Linked DNA regions of Homo sapiens: all the other regions are linked to region 3. Evidence: promoter capture Hi-C in human tissues and cell types (Jung and others, 2019). All regions are on one chromosome and are shown on one strand. The core of a region is centred on a gene start or on the middle of the fragment in contact, and the rest is flanking DNA. Distances in the headings are between cores, read along the strand shown. Region 1 holds the start of PGPEP1 (pyroglutamyl-peptidase I). Region 2 holds the start of LSM4 (LSM4 homolog, U6 small nuclear RNA and mRNA degradation associated). Region 3 holds the start of UPF1 (UPF1 RNA helicase and ATPase).

Region 1 (3,124 bases), core at 159-2,658, 490 kb before region 3:
AGCTACTTGGGAGGCTGAGGTGGGAGAATTGCTTGAACCCGGGAGGCAGAGGTTGCAGTGAGCCAAGATCACACCACTGCACTCCAGCCTGGGTGACAAGAGTGAAACTACGTCTCAAATAAATAAATACATATATAATTTCTGCTTAATAATACCTGGGGGACTAAATAATCTGTACAACAAACCCCATGACACGAGTTTATCTATATAACAAACCTGCACATGTACCCCAAAACTTAAAAGCTAAAAAAAATTAAAAATGATTTCTGGCCAGGTGTGCTGGTTTACACCTGTAATCCCAGCACTTTTGGGAGGCCAAGGTGTGCGGATTGCTTGAGCTCGGGAGTTCGAGACCAGCCTGTGCAACACTATGAAACCCCCATCTCTACAAAAATACAAAAATTAGCTGGGTGTGGTGCCACACACCTGTAGTCCCAGCTACTCAGGAGGCTGAGATGTGAGGATCAGTTGAGCCCTGGAGGTCAAAGTTACAGAGCTATGATTTTGCCACTGCACTCCAGCCTGGGTAACAGAGTGAGACCCTGTCTCCAAAAAAAAGAGAGAGAAAGGAAATTATTTCTGAGCTTTATTGCTATGAAGAGGATGGAACCAGGGAATGAGATGGAACCACTGGGGGGTAGCAGTGAGGTCATTTCAGCCAAGGAGGGCCAGAAGGAACCCTCAGAGGAGGTAATAGGATAGCAGGGAGGTGATAGCCAGAGAAGGCCACAAGGAGAAAGTGACAGTTCACCCCTCGGAGGAGGTGACAGCCAGGACAGGAGGAGGGCCCCTGGGAGGAGGCGACATTGGAACACTGGAGCTGAGGCCTGAAGGAGGCCAGCTTCGCAGGTACCTGCGGGGTGTGTTCCGGCAGAGGGAACAGCAGGTACAATCGCCCTCCCCCATTAGCCTCCTAGGACCATGGGGGCCTGCAGAGAAACTTCTGGCACCACACAAATATGGTTGTCGTGTTTTTCCTTTTTTACTCTGTCCTCCCCCACCCCCGCCAACTTCCTGGCCTGAATGCTGCTCCTGTGACCCCTTGAGGCGAGTGACCTCGGGGAAGTGGCATTCTGTGCCTCAGTTTCCTTATCTGGAAAACGGGCCTTGCTCGCGGGGACTTCCCTCCCTAATTCTGCGCAGTATGCATGCATAGGGCAGGCCCTCAATGAACCCTTGCAGAATAAAGGACCGGCTCATCCCCAGCACCTGGCTCAGTGCGTGCAAGCGGCTACACACTACGGCATAAGATGTTCCCATTTTGCAGACGGGGAAACGGAGGCTGGGGAATACCGGGCCTAGCCGACGGGGGCGGGGCGCAGGGCGCGCACGCTGCGTCTCGGGCCCGGGGGCGCGCACGCCGAGCGGCTGACCGGGGGCGAGGCCGGGGGCTTGACAGGGGCGTGGCCTCGCGCGGCCGAGAGGCTGCAGCGGCAGCAGCTGTCGCGCCAGTCGCAACAGAAGCAGGTCCGAGGCACAGCCCGATCCCGCCATGGAGCAGCCGAGGAAGGCGGTGGTAGTGACGGGTACGCTGGCTGATGGGGGCTGTAGCGGCAGCGGCCGGGGGCAGAGGCGGGGGCGGCTCCGGGACTGCGGGGCCGAGAGGGGCAGGTGCTGGAAGTCCTCTCAGATTTGGAAGGTGTCATCACCCGCGGGAGCCCCGCGCAGCCCAGGCTTCCTGGAAAGTGGAGGAGGAGGAGCCTTGGGGGTCCCAGGGTCGGGAGTCAGGGCAGTCGGGCGCGGGGCTTGGGGGGCCGGGCAAAAGCCCGGCGCTGCGCAGGCCCCCCTGGCGTCCTTTCCTCCCAAGGTGGGGATGGTGACCCTCCTGGCACCTGCCTCCTCTGTCTGGCCTGCGGGCTGGACTGGACCCTTCCTCCCTGCCCCTTCCGAGGTCCAGCCTGTCCCCACACCGCTCCCCCAACCCCTGGCCCCAGGGGACAAAGGCCGATTTGCGGGCAGGAAGTGTCCCAGTGACAAATGAACCTCCCAGTCACTGCTCGCCGCGCCCTGCGCTCCTGGGGGGCTACTCTCCCAAGGCAGGGGCAGGTGGGGGTCCGGGGACCTCGGGCTCTCCCAGCTGTCCCAGGGACTGTCTTCAGCGGAAACCTTTTTGTGTTTTGTGCCAGGGCTGTTTGTTGGTGAGTCAGGGCCCCTGCTGTCACCGACTCCCCCCCACCCCCAAACCAACTGTTTCTCCTCCCTGAGACTCCGCCTCGGGGCCACGTGGGGCGCCAACTTCCGCTGGGGCCTCAGAGTCAAGGAGTGGGGGGGTCATTTTGACCTGCTGTCTGGAGGGGTCAGAGTGGGAAATCCAGCAAAGGTGCACACAGGTGTTTTGTGGCTGTTGAAGGGAGATTGAGGCTGATCCAGGAGATTCAGGGAAGAAGGAAGAAACAAGGCACCTGCTTAACAGGTGTGTATAATTGGGAGGAGGGTCACTGCCCCCATCCCTTCCAGCCTTCCTTTATCTGGTTATTTATTCCAGCACTTTTTGCATGAGCTGATTACATCTTTACTGTCTCCATTTTGCAGAAAGGGAAACTGAGGCTCACAGAGGTCATCCAGTTTGTAAGGGGCTGAGCTGAGACTCAAACTTTGGCTGTACAGAAGGATAGAGTTAGGAGGTCCCCTCCTGAGCCACAGCCCCTACCTGCTATCCCAGGCTACAGCATCTCTGCATAGCATTCATATCCTGTGGGATCACTGGCCCAGATGGACCGTATTTTTTTTTTTTTGAGACGGAGTTTTGCTCTTGTTGCCCAAGCTGGAGCACAACGGCGCGATCTCGGCTCACTGCAACCTTCGCCTCCTGGGTTCAAGCGATTCTCCTGCCTCAGCCTCCTGAGTAGCTGGAATTACGGGCACGCATCACCCCATCTGGTTAATTTTTTGTATTTTTAGTAGAAACGGGGTTTCACCATGTTGGCCAGGCTGGTCTCAAACTTCTGACCTCAGGTGATCCGCCCGCCTTGGCCTCCCAAAGTGCTGGAATTACAGGCATGAGCCACCGCACCCAGCCCCAGATCTGGATTTGAATCCCAGCTTTTTCACCTTCTTGCTGTGTGACCTTGGGCAGCTAGCTTCACCTCTCTGTGCCTCAGTCCCTGCTCCTGGAAACTGGGCC
Region 2 (3,148 bases), core at 417-2,916, 510 kb before region 3:
TCAGACCTAACCGACTCCATTGTGCTTCTAACCTTTACGCCATCTTTGCTTATTCCTAGGTATAGGCCAAACTAACCTTGGGAAGGGATTTAGTTTATAGTTTGACTCTGGAACAAAATTGGTAATAGCCCTTTCCCGAAAAGACCCTCTTCTTGCCTGGGGACCAGTCTGCCTTTGTAGGACTAACAAATAAGCTACAAGATTAGAAATTACCATTTAGGTAACTTCAGCCTCTGGCTGCAAGAGTCTGAAACTCCCCAAATTGCTCCTTGGGATAACATCACTATTATAAAATCTAAGATCAGTGCTTGAGATATTTTGCAGACCCCGTACTTGACGGATCAGCTGACACTACCCAGACCAGTAATCTGGCTCAACCAGTCCTGCGATCCCACCCAGGAACAGAAGACAGCAAGAAAACCTCACTTCAACACTCCCGTCGATGACTCCATCGACCTCAGGAAGCTCCAACCAATCAGCACTCCCCACTTCCTGAGCCCCTACCCGCCAAATTATCTTTCAAAACTCGGATCCCCTAATGCTCAGCGGAGACTGATTTGAGCAATAATAAAACTCTGGTCTCCTGCATAGCTGGCTCTGTGTGAAATACTCTTTCTCCACTGCAATTCCCCTGTCTTGATAAATCTGTCTAGGAAGACAGGCAAGGTGAACCCATTGGGTGGTTACACACTGACCAGCCGGATTTAGGGAGAGTTCTCACTAATCCACAGTTCTGATGCAGCCACCCCTGGGGGACCCTCCTGGTTACTGAATCTCCCACTGTCTCACAGAGTCTGGAAGTCACATCCCCAACAAGGGCCTTGGTTTCTCTCATTGAAAAAAGAAGGACCAGAAGCTGATGGGCCAGGAAACTCCCAGCTCTGAATTCCTTTTCCGATCTGCACAGTGGGGGACACGGGCACTTTCTAGCCCAGATCCAGAACTTCCAGAATCATAAACAATGGGCCCTGCAGAGACCTGGGCCGCAATTTTTCCTTCTTTGTATTGGGAGGATGTACTTTGTCCACCCCTAGCTCAAAACGCCCCCTTCCGCTGGAATGACATGCTATGTGACCCAAGGAGAAACACCACACCCCAGCACCAGGCCTGCTTTTCAGCCAGAAACCAAGAGGCCTAGGAGGCTGTGCTGCTAGCATCTTGCAAGCTCTGAAATTCCTAAAACTAAGTTTCACAACTCAGACTGGCCCCCTACTTCCCAGCACTCTAGTTTTCAATCAGGGAGGTCAGACTGGGCCCGAAGCGTAAGGGACCCCTTCCCTGCCCAAAAACTCTCTGCTGCATTTGGCGGATCCCCACCTTTTTTTTTTTTACTTCAGTTTCCCCACCTGCAAACTGGGAAAACTAACTAAGGCGAGGCCACTGTACTGTGGATACAAGTCCGTGCAACCCTAAATCCCAGACACGAACGTGATAGAGCCACCTGCAGTCTCCGGCCTCAGTTTCCCAGCCTCGTGCCGGGGGGCGGGACTCGAGGCTCGGACCTTACGTTCGCCCCGCGCCAACCAAGCCCACAGCGCCCGCCCGCAGGGATCCCAACGACTGCTGTTCCCGCCTCCCGGTGAGACCCCGCAGTTGCCCTGCCCTCACCATGGTGCCGGCGGGGACCGGGCTCGCCGGCCACTTCCGCCGCCGCCGCTGCACACGCTCCCGGCGGTCGTCGCCGCGCCGCGCGCCACTAAGCTGAAAGAAAGTGGCAGAGACGCAAGCCAGTCAGCACCGGGCTCGAAGGGCGGTCAACCAATCCACGCGGAGTAGGGCGGGGCCCGCTGGGCGAAAGGGCGGGGCGGGCCGTGTTCCCGCCGGAGGAACGAGGACGAGAGCCGTAAAGTGCCGCGGCTTGTAATGCAAAAGGAGGCGGAGCAACGCGCGCCGGCGCGGGGTGCATTGTGAGGAAATGCGTGCGCAGGTGAAACCTTCGTCGGTCTCCTGGGCTCCACGCTGTGGGCAAAGCCAGTTAATGCCTTTCGTTTGCAGTAGAGAGAGAGAAATCGAGGCTTCGTGGTGATTGGGCCGTGCCTGATGTTGCCCTTCCGACTCCTAGTTTTCTGATTCTGTAATTATCCAGGGAACATCATTTAATAGGTTGGAATCCTGACCACGACCCTCGGGGCCTCAGTTTGCTCCCTGTAAATAGTAGTGTCTGCTCCAAAACGTTGCTTACTGTAAGGATGAAATGAATGAAACCATGTAAAAGCACTTAAAACAGCGTCTGGCACATATTAAGTACTTATTACCTACTCTGTGCCTGTTTCTGCTCACAGAATGAACAAAACACAAAATTCGTGGCCCTCAGGGAGACAGACAGTAAACAAAGTAAATAGGCGAATGCTATTAGTTTTCTGGGGCCTGCTGTAACAAATGCCCACACACTGCGAGGTTTAAAACAACAGAACGTGATTTTCTCACAATTCAAGAGATCAGAATAATGAAGTGAGGTTGTCAGCACAGTTGGCTCCCTCTGGAGGCTCTGAGGACAATCTGTGTGTCCTATGCCTCTCTCCTGGGTTCTGGTGGCTGCTGGGAATCCTTGGAGTTCTTGGCTTGTAGATGCAGCCTTCCGCGTTCTGCCTTTGTCGTCACTTGGCCTTCTCTGTGTGTCTCTGAGTCTCAAATGTATCTCTCCTTTTTTTTTTCTTTTTTTTTTTTGTAGTAGAGACAGGGTCTCCCTATGTTGTCCAGGCTGGTCTCGAACTCCTGGGGTCAAGCAATCCTCCCTCCTCTGCCTCCCAAAGTGCTGGGATTACAGGCGTGAGCCACCGAGCCCGGCCGCTCCTTTTTCTTGTAAAGGACACTCCTTTCTCTTATTAAGTCCACCATAAATTTCAGGATAATGTCATCTCAAGATCCTTAATTACATCTGCGAAGACCCTGTTCTTTTTTTTTTGAGATGGAGTCTCATTCTATCACCCAGGCTGCAGTGCAGTGGTGCGATCTCAGCTCACTGCAACCCCTCCCTCCTGGGTTCAAGGGATTCTTCTGCCTCAGCCACCCGAGTGGCTAGGATTACAGGCACATGCCACAATGCCCAGCTAATTTTTGTATTTTTAGCAGAGACGGGGTTTTGCCATGTTGGCCAGGAGGTGGCCTCGAACTCCTGACCTCAGGTGATCCTTCCACCTTGGCCTCC
Region 3 (3,124 bases), core at 534-3,033:
CTCTCCAAGAAGGCACAGTTTAAGGGGGAATACTGACAGACCAACAGATAATTTTAATATCATGCAAAGCTCTCTTTGGAACACATCCAGTGGAATTTGTAGACAAATTTCAGATCAATTTAGTAACACCTATCAGAGTTTTTAAAATTTATTTTTATACAAGGTCTTGCTCTTTTGGCCTCCGAAAGTGCTGGGATTACAGGCGTGACACACCGCACCGGGCTCCATATATATCAGCAGCAACCATATATCACATGAGAGTATGAGAGGAATAAATGAGCTACTAGTCACTCTATTTATATTAACATAAATAAATATATATTAATATACACACACACACATAGGATCTCTGTCACCCAGGCTGGAGTGCAGTGGCACAATCATAGCTCACCGCAGCCTCAAACTCCTGAGCTCAAGTGATTCTCTTGCCTCTACCTCCTAAAGTGCTGGGATTTCAGGAAAGAGCCACCTTGCCCAGGCTTCCTATGCCACCTTAATGGCAACAGAAACCCTAGGCTCAGAGAGGTTAAGTCACTTGTATAATTTCACACAGCTGGTAAGTGGTCAGGTCTAGAGTCCACCACAGACCATGTGCTTCCAGTTGTTTTGCTGTATACGTCCACTAAATAATAATCATAGCAAAAATAGTAATGGTATAATAACAGTGGCAGAGGCATCAGGAACAGCAGCAACCATCATTTCCAAGTGCCAGGCCCAGTACGTAAGACTATCCCCATTCATTTATTTTTACTTATTTTTGAGACAGGGTCTCGCTCTGTCACCCAGGCTGGAGTGCAGTGGTGCAATCTCGGCTTACTGCAGCCTCAACTTCCCAGGGTCAAGCGATCCTCCCACCTCAGCCTCCCTAGTAGCTGGGACTACAGGTGCGAACCACCACGCTTAGCTAATTTTTTTTTTTTTTTTTGAGACAGAGTCTCACTCTGTTGCCCAGGCTGGTGTGCAGTGGCACAATCTTGGCTCACTGCAACCTCCGCCTCCTGGGTTCAAGCGATTCTCCTGCCTCAGCCTCCTGAGTAGCTGGGACTACAGGCTCGTGCCACCACGCCTGGCTAATTTTTTGTATTTTTAGTGGAGACGGGGTTTCACCATGTTAGCCAGGATGGTCTCGATCTCCTGACGTCATGATCCACCCGCCTCGGCCTCCCAAAGTGCTGGGATTACAGGCGTGAGCCACCGCGCTCGGCCTAATTTTTATATTTTTTGTAGAGATGGAGTCTCACTCTGTCTCCCAGGCTGGTCTCGAACTCCTGAGTTCAAGCAGTTCTCCCGCCTCAGCCTCTGAGTGTTGGGATTACAGGTGTGACCACCGCGCCGAGCCCCACTCCCTTTTTAAACCAATGCACAGGGAGCATCTACTATGTGCGAGGCACCCTCCATTTTACAGATGGGGAAACTGAGTTCCAAGCAGCTTTTGCCAGGAGTGGGAGCGCACCGTCCCTGCCCAGTCTCTCCAGTTGGGCGTTCCGAGACCACCTATGTAGGGTATTCGGCTAGCGCTCAATTAAACCGAAACACCGTCGCAGCGACCACAGGTGCAGACCACCAAGTCCACACCGCCAGCCGCCCGGGCGTCCCCAATTAGCAGTTGGGGCGGGACCAAGTCCTCGAGCTGCCGCCGCAGCGGCGGTTGAAAGCCCCACCCCCTGCGCGTGCGCGGTGCGCGTCCCGTCTTCCTGCTGGGCACCAGGCGCCCGCGAAGAGCGCGCGCGCTTCCGCCGGCGTCGGGCTCGCGCACGCGCACGGCGACGGCGGCGGTGGCGGCAGTTCCTGCTCTAGGCTGCGAGCGGCTGGCGGCTTCGAGGGGAGCTGAGGCGCGGAGGGGCTCGGCGGCAGCGGCGGCGGCTCGGCACTGTTACCTCTCGGTCCGGCTGGCGCCGGGGCGCGCGGTTTGGTCCTTTCCGGGCGCGCGGGGGCGACAGCGGCAGCGACCCGAGGCCTGCGGCCTAGGCCTCAGCGCGGCGGCGGGCTCGAGTGCAGCGCGGAACCGGCCCGAGGGCCCTACCCGGAGGCACCATGAGCGTGGAGGCGTACGGGCCCAGCTCGCAGACTCTCACTTTCCTGGACACGGAGGAGGCCGAGCTGCTTGGCGCCGACACACAGGGCTCCGAGTTCGAGTTCACCGACTTTACTCTTCCTAGCCAGACGCAGACGCCCCCCGGCGGCCCCGGCGGCCCGGGCGGTGGCGGCGCGGGAGGCCCGGGCGGCGCGGGCGCGGGCGCTGCGGCGGGACAGCTCGACGCGCAGGTGAGCGGCACATGGCGGTGCCGGAAGCCCGGGCCCGGCCTCGGCGCCTGAGACCTGCCCCGAACTCGCCTCGGGCCCGGCCTGTGTTTGGCCGGAGTCCCCCATCGCGGCCGGGCCTGGGGCGATCTGCCCCGGGTCCCCTACTCTGGCTCGGCCTGAGCTTACCTGCCCCAGGTCCTGCAATCTGCCCGGGCCTGGCCTGATCTGCCCCGGGTCCCCCGCTCCGGCCGCGACCTGGCTGAGTTCCTTCGGCCCCCAACTCCTGGGCCGGGCAGACTTGCCTCGAGTCCTCCACTTCGTTCGGGACCGAGCTAACCTGACCCTGTTCCTTTACGCCAGCTGGGTTTGCTCCCCCTCCTGGGCCCGGGCTGACCTGCCTTGTGTCCCACAATCAGTCTGGCCTGGAGTAACCTGCCCCCTGACTTATCTGAGTTCTTCCATTCCATCCGGGCTAGGGTGACCTGCCCTGGTCCCTCTTTCGCAGGTCTCGGTATTCTGCCTCGAGTTCTCCTACGACCTGGGCCGGGTCTTGCTCAGGCCGGAGCTTGAGTGACTTCCCTCAGTCCCTTTCCGGGAGTATCCAGGGTGACCTGCCCTAATCCTGTCTCTGGCCTGGTCCGGGGGTCCTGCCCGGTCTCCCCATTGGTGGGTCTGGCCGCCTGTCCCACCTCCCATCTGTGGTCGCAGCCATCTGGGCACCCCACCTTTCACAGTCACGGAGCGTAGGTTCGACTTTCCCCATGCATAGGGGCGCTGGCCAGCGGAAGGTTGAGGCAGAGAAGAATTTTTGCCTCCCATGGAGGAGCACATATTGGCTGGCTATTAAGATCATTCAGGAAGCAGGTTGTATTTTGTTTTT

What was found. Contacts are between HindIII fragments. The study calls those that stand out against the background at their distance.
Region 1: a contact is called between the fragment with the promoter of PGPEP1 here and the fragment with the promoter of UPF1 in region 3, in 3 of the 25 tissues and cell types used here (adrenal gland, dorsolateral prefrontal cortex and stomach).
Region 2: a contact is called between the fragment with the promoter of LSM4 here and the fragment with the promoter of UPF1 in region 3, in 1 of the 25 tissues and cell types used here (dorsolateral prefrontal cortex).

What each region holds. Positions count from the first base shown.
Region 1 is chr19:18,339,190-18,342,313 of GRCh38, forward strand. PGPEP1 (pyroglutamyl-peptidase I) reads left to right here and starts at 1,409. Exons shown (of 5, transcript NM_017712.4): 1 at 1,409-1,526. The coding sequence starts at 1,493. RefSeq lists a silencer at 1,258-1,447 and an enhancer at 1,279-1,966. The HindIII fragment of the contact is 61,917 bases long and covers 1-3,124 here.
Region 2 is chr19:18,321,410-18,324,557 of GRCh38, forward strand. It overlaps LSM4 (LSM4 homolog, U6 small nuclear RNA and mRNA degradation associated), which reads right to left and starts at 1,667. Exons shown (of 5, transcript NM_012321.5): 1 at 1,609-1,667. The coding sequence starts at 1,611. It overlaps LOC105372300 (a long non-coding RNA gene), which reads left to right. Exons shown (of 2, transcript XR_007067157.1): 2 at 325-588. RefSeq lists a silencer at 1,548-1,727 and enhancers at 1,788-2,007, 2,206-2,808. The HindIII fragment of the contact is 25,574 bases long and covers 1-3,148 here.
Region 3 is chr19:18,830,176-18,833,299 of GRCh38, forward strand. UPF1 (UPF1 RNA helicase and ATPase) reads left to right here and starts at 1,784. Exons shown (of 24, transcript NM_002911.4): 1 at 1,784-2,265. The coding sequence starts at 2,035. RefSeq lists silencers at 1,588-1,847, 1,968-2,067, 2,218-2,307, 2,318-2,397. The HindIII fragment of the contact is 23,837 bases long and covers 1-3,124 here.